Regions from separate parts of the Homo sapiens genome. Here all the other regions are linked to region 1. Evidence: promoter capture Hi-C in 16 types of primary human blood cells and fetal thymus (Javierre and others, 2016). All regions are on one chromosome and are shown on one strand. The core of a region is centred on a gene start or on the middle of the fragment in contact, and the rest is flanking DNA. Distances in the headings are between cores, read along the strand shown.

Region 1 (3,117 bases), core at 192-2,691:
TGAGAGATGATCAATGTTTATGCTGTTTGAAGCCACTAAATTTGGGGGTAATTTGTTCTGCAGTAATAGATACACTGAACAGCTTTTAAAGCTGCGCGATATGGGCTTTGGGTCACGTCAACCAGATACAGAAAGGCTTTAGGGACTCAAGAAACACTTTGAGTAAACTTGTTTTCCTCTTTTCACCAAATAAACTGAATTTGAGGCCAATATTTGAAATCTTTGTGCTATATAACTTCTGAAATACATTGTATTCTTAATGCGTTTCCAAGTGACCTGTTGTCCATAGAAAAGTACACTCAACACTGAATGTATCTGCTACTCTGAAGAGCAAGACAGCTCGAACTGGAATTCACTCAGACACCTCATAGCACGAAATCATCTCATAGCCTTTCAGACCCCATCTTCACTGCCACCTTTCATTCTTTTGGGTCTCTGGGCCATGACATCCCCTGTCCTTTCGGAAAGCAGGAACGGAGGGATATAACGAAATAAATTAATTGGGAACGCAGCGGAGCTAGGGACCCTACTGGATGTTGGGGGTGGAACTTTTAAATCATTTACAAAACACCAGTCCCGACCTCCCCTGGAAGACTGAGCTGTTACCTCTTCTGGCGTCCGTGCCCGCGGAAGTTCGCTCCTAGGGAAGTCGCTCGCGTCCTCAAGAGCACCTGAGAGGATCTCGGCGAAGCGGAAGGCTTTGGTGCCAGCTGGGAGAGTCTGCGCCGGATTTCCTCAGCTCCTTGGCGCGTTTCCTCGGAGCCGGGGGAGGCAAAGCACGGACCCCGGAGTCGGCGCCCATAGCGGGACGCCCTCGCGAGGGGCGGGAGTGCGGGAGGTGGGTGTGCGGGCGGCGCGCTCGCCCTCCAGCTGCAGCCCGCGCCGAGCGCGCAGGGCCAGCGAGCGCCGGCGCCTCCAGCATGGAGTGGGAACTCAACTTGCTGCTCTACCTGGCGCTCTTCTTCTTCCTGCTCTTCTTACTTTTCCTCCTGCTCTTCGTGGTCATCAAGCAGCTGAAGAACTCCGTGGCCAACACGGCCGGGGCGCTCCAGCCCGGGCGCCTCTCGGTGCACCGCGAGCCTTGGGGCTTCTCCCGAGAGCAAGCGGTGTGACCCGAGTGCGGGCACTGGCGGGAGGGCACCGAGCTGCGCGGGCGCTGGGCTGGGTCTCCGCCTCGATTCTCCGTCCTCGCGGCCTCCCAGCTTCCAGGTGCGGGGCTCGGCGGCTCTGACGGGTCCGTTCCGGCGTGAGGCGCAGGGACCCGCGTCTCCGCTCCTGTGGGAGGCCCGGGGCTCGCAGCGCGTTCGGGTGCCAGGGACGGTGGGTGTATGGGGTCTGGGCTGGCGCTGTGCTCTTCGAGAGGGACCCTAAGCTGTTCCAGGGCTGGGAGAGATGGCGAAAAGAGAATTCGCCCTTTGGAGCCGGAATGACTTTGGACAACTGCAAGCTCTTTTCTGTCCAACTGCATTTTAGTTATACCCAAGGAGTGGAAAAGTAAATTATTCGGATAATGCAGTTTAGCCACTTTCGAACAAAATCGCAGGTTAACCTGAATATCCACATTTTTGAGAAAGACTGTGTGGGCTTTGGGACGGGTGGCAGGAGGAAACGGGGCGCACTTAAAGTATTTTAAATATTGCTTTAAATATTTTTGCGCTTTGAGAGATGGTAAATGGGGTTCGTCTGGTGGTGCTGGGGTGGGGCGTGGGGGAGAGAAGATTCAGTCGTCCATTTGGAGGGAGGAATCCCTTCCTCCCGGTGATCCTTACTCATATTCTAGCCACCAACCACGGTTAGTGCTTGCGGATTGCCGTGCAGGGTAGGTTTCGAATCTGGGACAGCGGATGGTGAACGTTACAGTGAGAGTCATTTGGAAGATGCCTTAGGGTTGGCCGGTACGTGACCTTTTGGGTGATGGCATGGAGGGCCAGCTAAAAGAGGTACTGTTTGCATAGTGTAGGGAAACAGGAAAAAGGACGGAGAGGCGGGTCTGTGGTTTCAGGTTAAATTACTAGAGCTTTTGCAGAAGATGGGCGGGCAGGAGCAAACTCGAGTACCAGTATGCCCTAAGTACCCTCTCGCTAATGTTAGTTTGGGAAATATCTTCATCCTTCAGTAGCTTTTCCCTAGATTTATGTCATCTCTCTTTCTAGAGCCGAGCTGCTGCCCTTGACTGGTGCTCAGGGGACCACAGCTGCAATGACAGTTTGGGCCTGCAAAAAGAAGGCTGGAACAACGGGAGATGGAAGCTTTCTGCAAATGGTAAGTTGGGATGACGCATGGTTTCACGTTGGCCTTAGTTATGACTAAACTTCTAAAGATCCAGGGCCTAAAAACATGTTGGTTCAGGATGGGGGAAATGGGTACAAGGAAGGAAAGGGCACTCTCCCACTCAAATCTGGTGAGCTTCTACCAGATCCACAAAGCCAAACTGACTCCTAACTCATTGCAAGAATCAGTGTCTTAGTAGAGGATTGTGGAAATTTGAATGAGATGTCAGGAGTGTTTGCACTTTTAATAATCATTCGGCCCTTTTGAAAAACAGTGCGGGGGTTCATGGGGTGAAATATGTGATGCAGATATACTCAATCTTCAGTAAGGGAAGATTTGGGTTTAGTCATGTCAGTGTGGGATAAGCTAAGTCATAACTATAGTATTGAAAATACTAATTTTAGACACAAAGACCATATAGAGAGGCTAAAAACAATGAAATACTAAAGTTTGCCTAAGTTGATAATATAAAAGTGAAGTGTAAGACAATTATTTTAATGCTTCAAAGGAAAAATAGTCTCAGGTGAATAATTTTGGCCCAAGACATTAGATAATTTCCCACTTTCTATTTCACTCTCCCCAAATAGGCCTGTTCTTAATGAAGTAAGAGGTTTACTTTAATTATTATGGTATGAGCAAATCCTCACCTCTTTATCAGAGTTATGGTAAGACTTGATTTGAATTCCCAGTTTGAACTCCCTGAATCAACTGCAGTGATTCTGTATTGTGCTTTGAACAATAGTTCTCTAATTGGTTGATATCTCTGCAGTGGCATTTAGTTAAAAGGTTGTATGGTTAATATGGACATTGAAGATGAGTGTGGGAGTAATTAATTAGCAATTATAG
Region 2 (3,117 bases), core at 303-2,802, 1.7 Mb after region 1:
CATCTCCATGTATAACAGCTCCACACCATGATCCCCCAAAACCCAGGCTGTTCTTCAGAGTACAACCAAACACATCTCAACACATTTTTAAAATGTCTCTCAAATTTGTCATCTTTTTACATTCCTGCTGTATTGCATATTCTCATTTCCTTTTGTCTGAGCTATCAATAAAATTGGCAGGACAAAGAGTAGGCTATTTCAAATGCCATTCTATCCCTTGGCCAGAATATTTGTTTAATGCCTCCTCTTAGTTCACTGAAGATCTTTTAAGTAGAAAATTGACAAGATCTTTTAAGCACAAAATTTTTAAAAAATTCCTGTTTTTGCAGCCCTAGTCAGGGTACCCCTTTTGGCCATCCACTCTTAGCCAGATGAGCCAGTATTGCACCCTGGATCCTACCTCTTGTTTCTTTTCCTCCAGTTTTGGACTCTTTTCTTCCACTTTTGGATTATTTTCCTTGTTCCAATTCTGTGACTTTCCAGCCATTCAGCTCCATTGGTTTCCATTGCTGAATGGGTCTCAGGAGTTACATAGCAAGGATGGAGGAATATTAAGGACCCACTATAGTTTGCCTCAAATTAGAGTTATCTAAAATATAGTCAGATCTTTGATGCTTTCAGGATTCATATTCTGGTACCATCTAGATTGCTTGGATTTGACTCCAGTTCTCCTAGCTGGGTGACCTTAGCTAAATTATTCAACTTCCTTCTGTAACTTAATTCAGGTAATAGTAGTATCTAACTCTTGAGCTAATGAGGGATTAAATAAAATGATTCTTGTAAAGCACATAGAAATGTGCCTGGCAGATAGTATGTGGTTAATAATGTTGGCTATCATTATTATATATGTTATAAGAGTTTCTATCTCATCTGTGCCTTAAGTTGTATTATCTAAAGCCTCCTTTAGTTATGCTAAACTAAACATGTACCAACCCAGGAAAGGTGCGTGGAAAAGTGGTGAAAAGCTGTCTTATTAACAACAACAGTAACAATATAATAATAAAACAATAACAATAACATATTAGCATTAAGCCAAAGCTTCATTTAAATTATCTCATGTAATACTCAGAAAAATTATATGTGACAAGTACTATTGTTACATCCATTTTACCGATAAGGAAAATAACTCCTATATAATTCTTCTTAAATTGTCCAGATAGTCTGCTTCTAAGAAGTTTCTCTGGAACATGCTAGGCTAACATCTTTTTTTGACATATCTGCATGTGATCTCTGCTGTTGGTAGATTGCTTGGAGATTCCTGCTTCTTTTAGACAAGACCATGACACTCCCTCATTATGCAACCAGTAATAAAGTTTTTTTTTTTTATGTGATCTAAGTGGACTTTTATGACAGGATTTGTTGAAACCCCTAAGATGGCTTTTATTCTGTGCTTTGGGCAGTGGTAAATAGATGGGGTTCAAGAGTCTGGAGCACTCCTTCCCAATAAGAATGTATTTTCCTTACAGGATTGTTCTGCAAAGTCCATTATAAAGAATGATAGCTCACGCCGGGCATGGCGGCTCACACTTGTAATCCCAGCACTTTGGGAGGTCAAGGTGGGTGAATCACTTGAGGCCAGGAGTGCAAGACCATCGAAACCTTGTCTCCACTAAAAAATACAACAATTAGCTGGGTGTGATGGTGCATGCATGTAATCCCAGCTACACAGGAGGCTGAGGAATAAGGATCACTTGAACCTGAGAGGCGATGATTGCAGTGAGCTGAGATGGTGCCACCACGCTCCAGCCTGGGTGAAAGAGCAAGACTCTGTCTCAGAAAAAAAAAAAAAAAAAAAAGAATGATACTTCAAATTTCCACATAGGCATGCAGGTCAGCCATCCTAACTAGGTCTATTCCATATTTACCTAGAAGAGAGGACAAGCACGGAACACTACTATTCCCAACTCAGGTGCCTCATCCCCTAATCAATAAGGTTTCTGCAAACATCCTCAAAATCAGTGGCTTCCAAAGTGGAATATATGCAAAAAACAATCCTTTTGGGAGTATAGGAAGGAATGTTACAACTTCTATTTAATTTATGTTTTAACCTAGGAAAATAAGCTTTACTAAAAAAATGGATTTCAAAAAATGGACTGACATTGCACACTCACACAGTCTCCATGTCAGAAGGTCACGTTCTTACTCATATGTGGAAGTTAAAAAAGTTGATCCCACAGAAGTAAAAAGTACAACAGAGAATACTAGAGGCTGGGAAGGGTAGGCGGAAAGAGAGGACAGAGAGATTTGTTAAAGGAAACAAAATTACAGCTAGATAAGAGTAAGTTCTAGTGTTCTACAGCACTTGTAGGATGACTACATCCTACAAGTTAATAATAGTTTAAAATAGCTAGAATGGGGATATTGAATGTTTGAAACACAAAGAAATTATAAATGTTTAAGATGATAGATAGGCTGATTACCCTGATCTGATCACTATACATTGTATAGACCACAACATCACTATGCACCCTGTAAATATGTACAATTATTATTTGTCAGTTTTAAAAATTTAGAAAAAAAAGGGAGTCATAGGCCATGATTGGTACCCTGAGGAAATGCAAGTCAGCTGTGCCAGATTTACTGGCTCTTTCTCTTTGCAGTACTGTGCTAACAAGAACTTCAGAAAAATTAACATTCTTCCATTCCGTTTTTCAAAAGACACTCATGTTATGGAAGGAGCACGTTTGAATAAACTTTTTTTTTTTTTTGAGATGGAGTCTCGCTCTGTCACCCAGGTTGGAATGCAGTGGCACGATCTCAGCTCACTGCAAGCTCCAGCTCCCGGGTTCATGCCATTCTCCTGCCTCAGCCTCCTGAGTAGCTGGGACTACAGGTGCCCGCCACCACACCCGGCTAATTTTTTGTATTTTTTTTTTTTTTACAGGGTTTCACTGTGTTAGCCAGGATGGTCTCAATCTCCTGACCTCGTCATCCGCCCTCCTCAGCCTCCCAAAGTGCTGGGATTACAGGCATGAGCCACCGCACCTGGCCTGGATAAACTATTTTTTAAAAAAGTCTCATCTGTACAATTGAAAAGTTTGGAAACAGAGTTCTCTAAACTATAATTTTTCTAAATTACAAATTAGTTCCAAAACTAACTAAAAGGTCAAACAATGC
Region 3 (3,117 bases), core at 400-2,899, 1.6 Mb after region 1:
TATACATAACTAACTAGACCACACAATTCTTCATTTTTTTCCTAAAAACATATTGGGGCCTACTGTTGCAAGGAATATTCTTTGAGAAATGATTTTCTTCATGCCAGAAGGCCTCAGCATTCTGCAGTGTTTTCTAACACGCATTCATTTGTTCATCTTGTCAACAAAGACGTGTTCTCCTGAGTGCTGGGTGTTCAGTGGCGCACAGGTCGGATGAGGTCCCCACTGTCGTGGATGTGCTCTGATGTTGTGCTTTGTTTTGTTGGTGGAATCTCTGTCTTTCACCCTCACTGTCACTACCACTTGTTCCTGTTGCCACCCTCCTTGAGTGCTTACTTCTAGCAACATCTTTGTCCCCAATCCTCTAACTTGACATTTTGTAACCTTGCCTGTGTTTGGATAATCAGAAAATTAAGCCTATAGGAGTGATGGGATAAGAGGCTGTTCTTTTTATATAAAACATGAACCATTTTATGTGAATGCATACAGCTGTCAGGGCCTTTCTTGCATTCTTTCTCATCAGAGGCTTCTAATAAATAGTTAAAATTTCCAAGAAGGCAGCTTCTAGTTAAATAAGATGGTAGAGCAGAGTGGTCAAACACAGAATATTTGCCTTCTAACAGGCAGGCCTGCCTTCCAGGCCAAATCCTGCCCCCTCCTTCTGTTTAACCCATGCAAGTTCCAGTTTCCTCACCTGTAGAATGGTGGTAGTAATCATGCCCACTCACTGGGATTATTACAGGGATTAAATAAGACAATGTACTCAGAGCTCACAGGAGCCACTAACATCAACTATCATTTTTACAGAGCCTAGCACATAGTAGACATTCAACATATAGTTAGAAATAGGAGTTACGGGCCAAATGATGTGAACAGCTTTCTTAATTTCTTTCTTTTTAAAAAATATATTTTTCTTGTTTCCAGTGGGGTTGGAAGCTTTCTCAATTTCTTGAACCAAGATATTATAGGCAATTTTATTATGTTCTTGGAAGCACAGATAAAGCTTGGGCCCAAGTATGCTTACAGAGCTTTCTAAAATGCAGAACTGATGAGATTCCTAAAGATCAGGTATGATGGTGAAGTAGGTGCGGTGACTCAGGCACCACACATTTAGAGGACAATAAAGCAACACTGTGGCCCCATGCAAGTGATGAGAGAAGTCCCTGGAATATTCACCTTCAGTGTTGGGTTTTCCTTTCTTTCTTGCACCTCATGGCTGTTTGCTGAATACGCAGTGGTATTTCCATTTCCTACAGGAGCTTCGGGTCTTTCAAGATGTCAAAGAAGAAGTTTTACAAACTAAGCTTTTACAGGGAAAGTCCCTGCGGTGAACAGAGCATGAGTTGTATGCCATAATAAAGGCAGGTGAGAAAATGGAGATAAAGGCAGATACCCTGACACTTGAATCTCGTGAGGTGGACAGAACAGGTGAGGCCTGGCCTTGGAGGGCAGGGGTCCAGGAAAGGCAGGATGAGATCTGCAAGGAGAGGAGAGATCTCTTGTAATGTGCCAGGAGAGCCCCTGAGATGGCTAGCCAAAGGCCCTGTAGAACAAAGCCCTAGGCTACTGTTGACATGCACAGCTCCTCATCTACAGAAGGGAGCAGCCTCTGAAGCCCATCTGTGGATTATTCAGCAAAAGGAGCCAGCCTGTAGTGTCAATTGTGCAAGGCCCCATGGGAATTGACCCCTGGATTACAGGTTCCCTGCCAATCACCCAAAAAGAGGTGGTTCTTGTTAGCCCCACATCCCTCAGAATGATAGTGCTGGTACGGAAGGAAGTATTTCAGTCACTAATTGAGTCGGGACGATTGATGAATATATCACTCATTTTGGGCAAACCCTTCAAATTTAGAAACATTACTGCTGAAAGACAATGACTTTAGTTTTTTAAAATAATAGTAATAATGTGAAATAGAAAAGGCAATAAAGGTCAAAAAGCGCATAAATAAGAAAAATGTAATATTAATCATAAACTATGAGCTAGAAGCTTGTAGACTCCAACCAGCAAACTTACAAAGTAGGGATTTGTCAGCATTTTACACATGGCAAATGACAACTCAGAAAAATTAAGTGTCTTGCCCAAGGGTAGCAAGTCAGTTAACAGCGGTCATGAAAACAGCCAAATACTGAGTACTTTATGCCAAGTAATTTTAAGTAATTCTATCTATAATTAGTTATGATACCAAGTATATAATACAGATAATTACCAATTTTACATATATTCTCTCATGTATAACTCATGCCGTTCCTAGAAGGAAGGACTATTATTATTATTCCCACTGCACAGATGGGAAAACCAAGGTAGGAAATACTAAGTGACTTCCTCAAGGTCATATTTAATTAGTAGTAAACCAAGGCTGTTTGACTTGGAACCTGTGTCCTTGGCCGCATCCTTTCCATCCTCTGTTTTGTAAAGAAATTTCTTGATCATCAGAAATCACACTGAAATGGGAGAGTTCTCTGACCCCCATCACAGGACATGTGACGGGTGTGGCTCATCTGTTCGGTCACTGCCACTGCTCAAACCCCTTACTGGAGGGGGAGCACACAGATGGACAGATGCAGGAACCCAAGTGGGCGTGTGTTACAATGCACTCTTTTAGCCTGTAGACCCAAATCTCATCTTGAATTGTAGCTCCCATAATTCCCACGTGTTGTGGCAGGGACCCAGTGGGAGATAATTGAATCATGGGGGCAGGTCTTTCCCACGCTATTTTCATAATAGTGAATAAGTCTCAGAAGATATGATGGTTTTATAAAGGGTAGTTTTCCTGCCCAAGCTCTCTTCTCTTGTCTGCCGCCATGTGAGACATGCCTTTCACCTTCTGCCATGATTGTGAGGCCTTCCCAGCCATGTGGAACGATGAGTCCATTAAACCTCTTTCTTTTGTAAATTGCCCAGTCTCAGGTATGTCTTTATCAGCAGTGTGAGAACAGACTAATACAAGTGTTAACCAGCTCAATGGACCTTTTTGCAAGGGCAGAGGGCCAGTGTGACAGCTTTCTGTATCCTGAGCTCTTGTCCAGCATTCCGAAAGAATGGGGTCACACATGGACTTGAAGGATGGTGAATGTGGGGGTTTTATTGAGTGGTGGAGGTGGCTCTCAGTGGGAT

The links. The method cuts DNA at HindIII sites, captures the fragments that hold promoters and counts their contacts. A CHiCAGO score of 5 or more calls a contact.
Region 2: a fragment that was not itself captured here is called in contact with the fragment with the promoter of PP12613 in region 1 in 5 of 17 cell types (activated CD4 T cells, non-activated CD4 T cells, naive CD8 T cells and 2 more); the score reaches 9.5 in activated CD4 T cells.
Region 3: a fragment that was not itself captured here is called in contact with the fragment with the promoter of PP12613 in region 1 in 1 of 17 cell types (activated CD4 T cells); the score reaches 7.3 in activated CD4 T cells.

The regions. Positions count from the first base shown.
Region 1 is chr4:121,762,909-121,766,025 of GRCh38, reverse strand. PP12613 (a long non-coding RNA gene) reads right to left here and starts at 1,441. Exons shown (of 1, transcript NR_024365.1): 1 at 1-1,441. It overlaps SMIM43 (small integral membrane protein 43), which reads left to right and starts at 862. Exons shown (of 6, transcript NM_001384332.1): 1 at 862-1,209; 2 at 2,154-2,262. The coding sequence starts at 921. The coding sequence ends at 1,112. The HindIII fragment of the contact is 5,910 bases long and covers 1-2,251 here.
Region 2 is chr4:120,075,405-120,078,521 of GRCh38, reverse strand. All of the region lies in intron 1 of MAD2L1-DT (MAD2L1 divergent transcript), which reads right to left. Among named protein-coding and RNA genes, the nearest start is that of MAD2L1-DT, 10 kb to the right of the region's middle. The HindIII fragment of the contact is 1,023 bases long and covers 1,041-2,063 here.
Region 3 is chr4:120,141,168-120,144,284 of GRCh38, reverse strand. The region is part of intron 2 of MAD2L1-DT (MAD2L1 divergent transcript); the gene reads right to left. Among named protein-coding and RNA genes, the nearest start is that of MAD2L1-DT, 76 kb to the right of the region's middle. The HindIII fragment of the contact is 685 bases long and covers 1,307-1,991 here.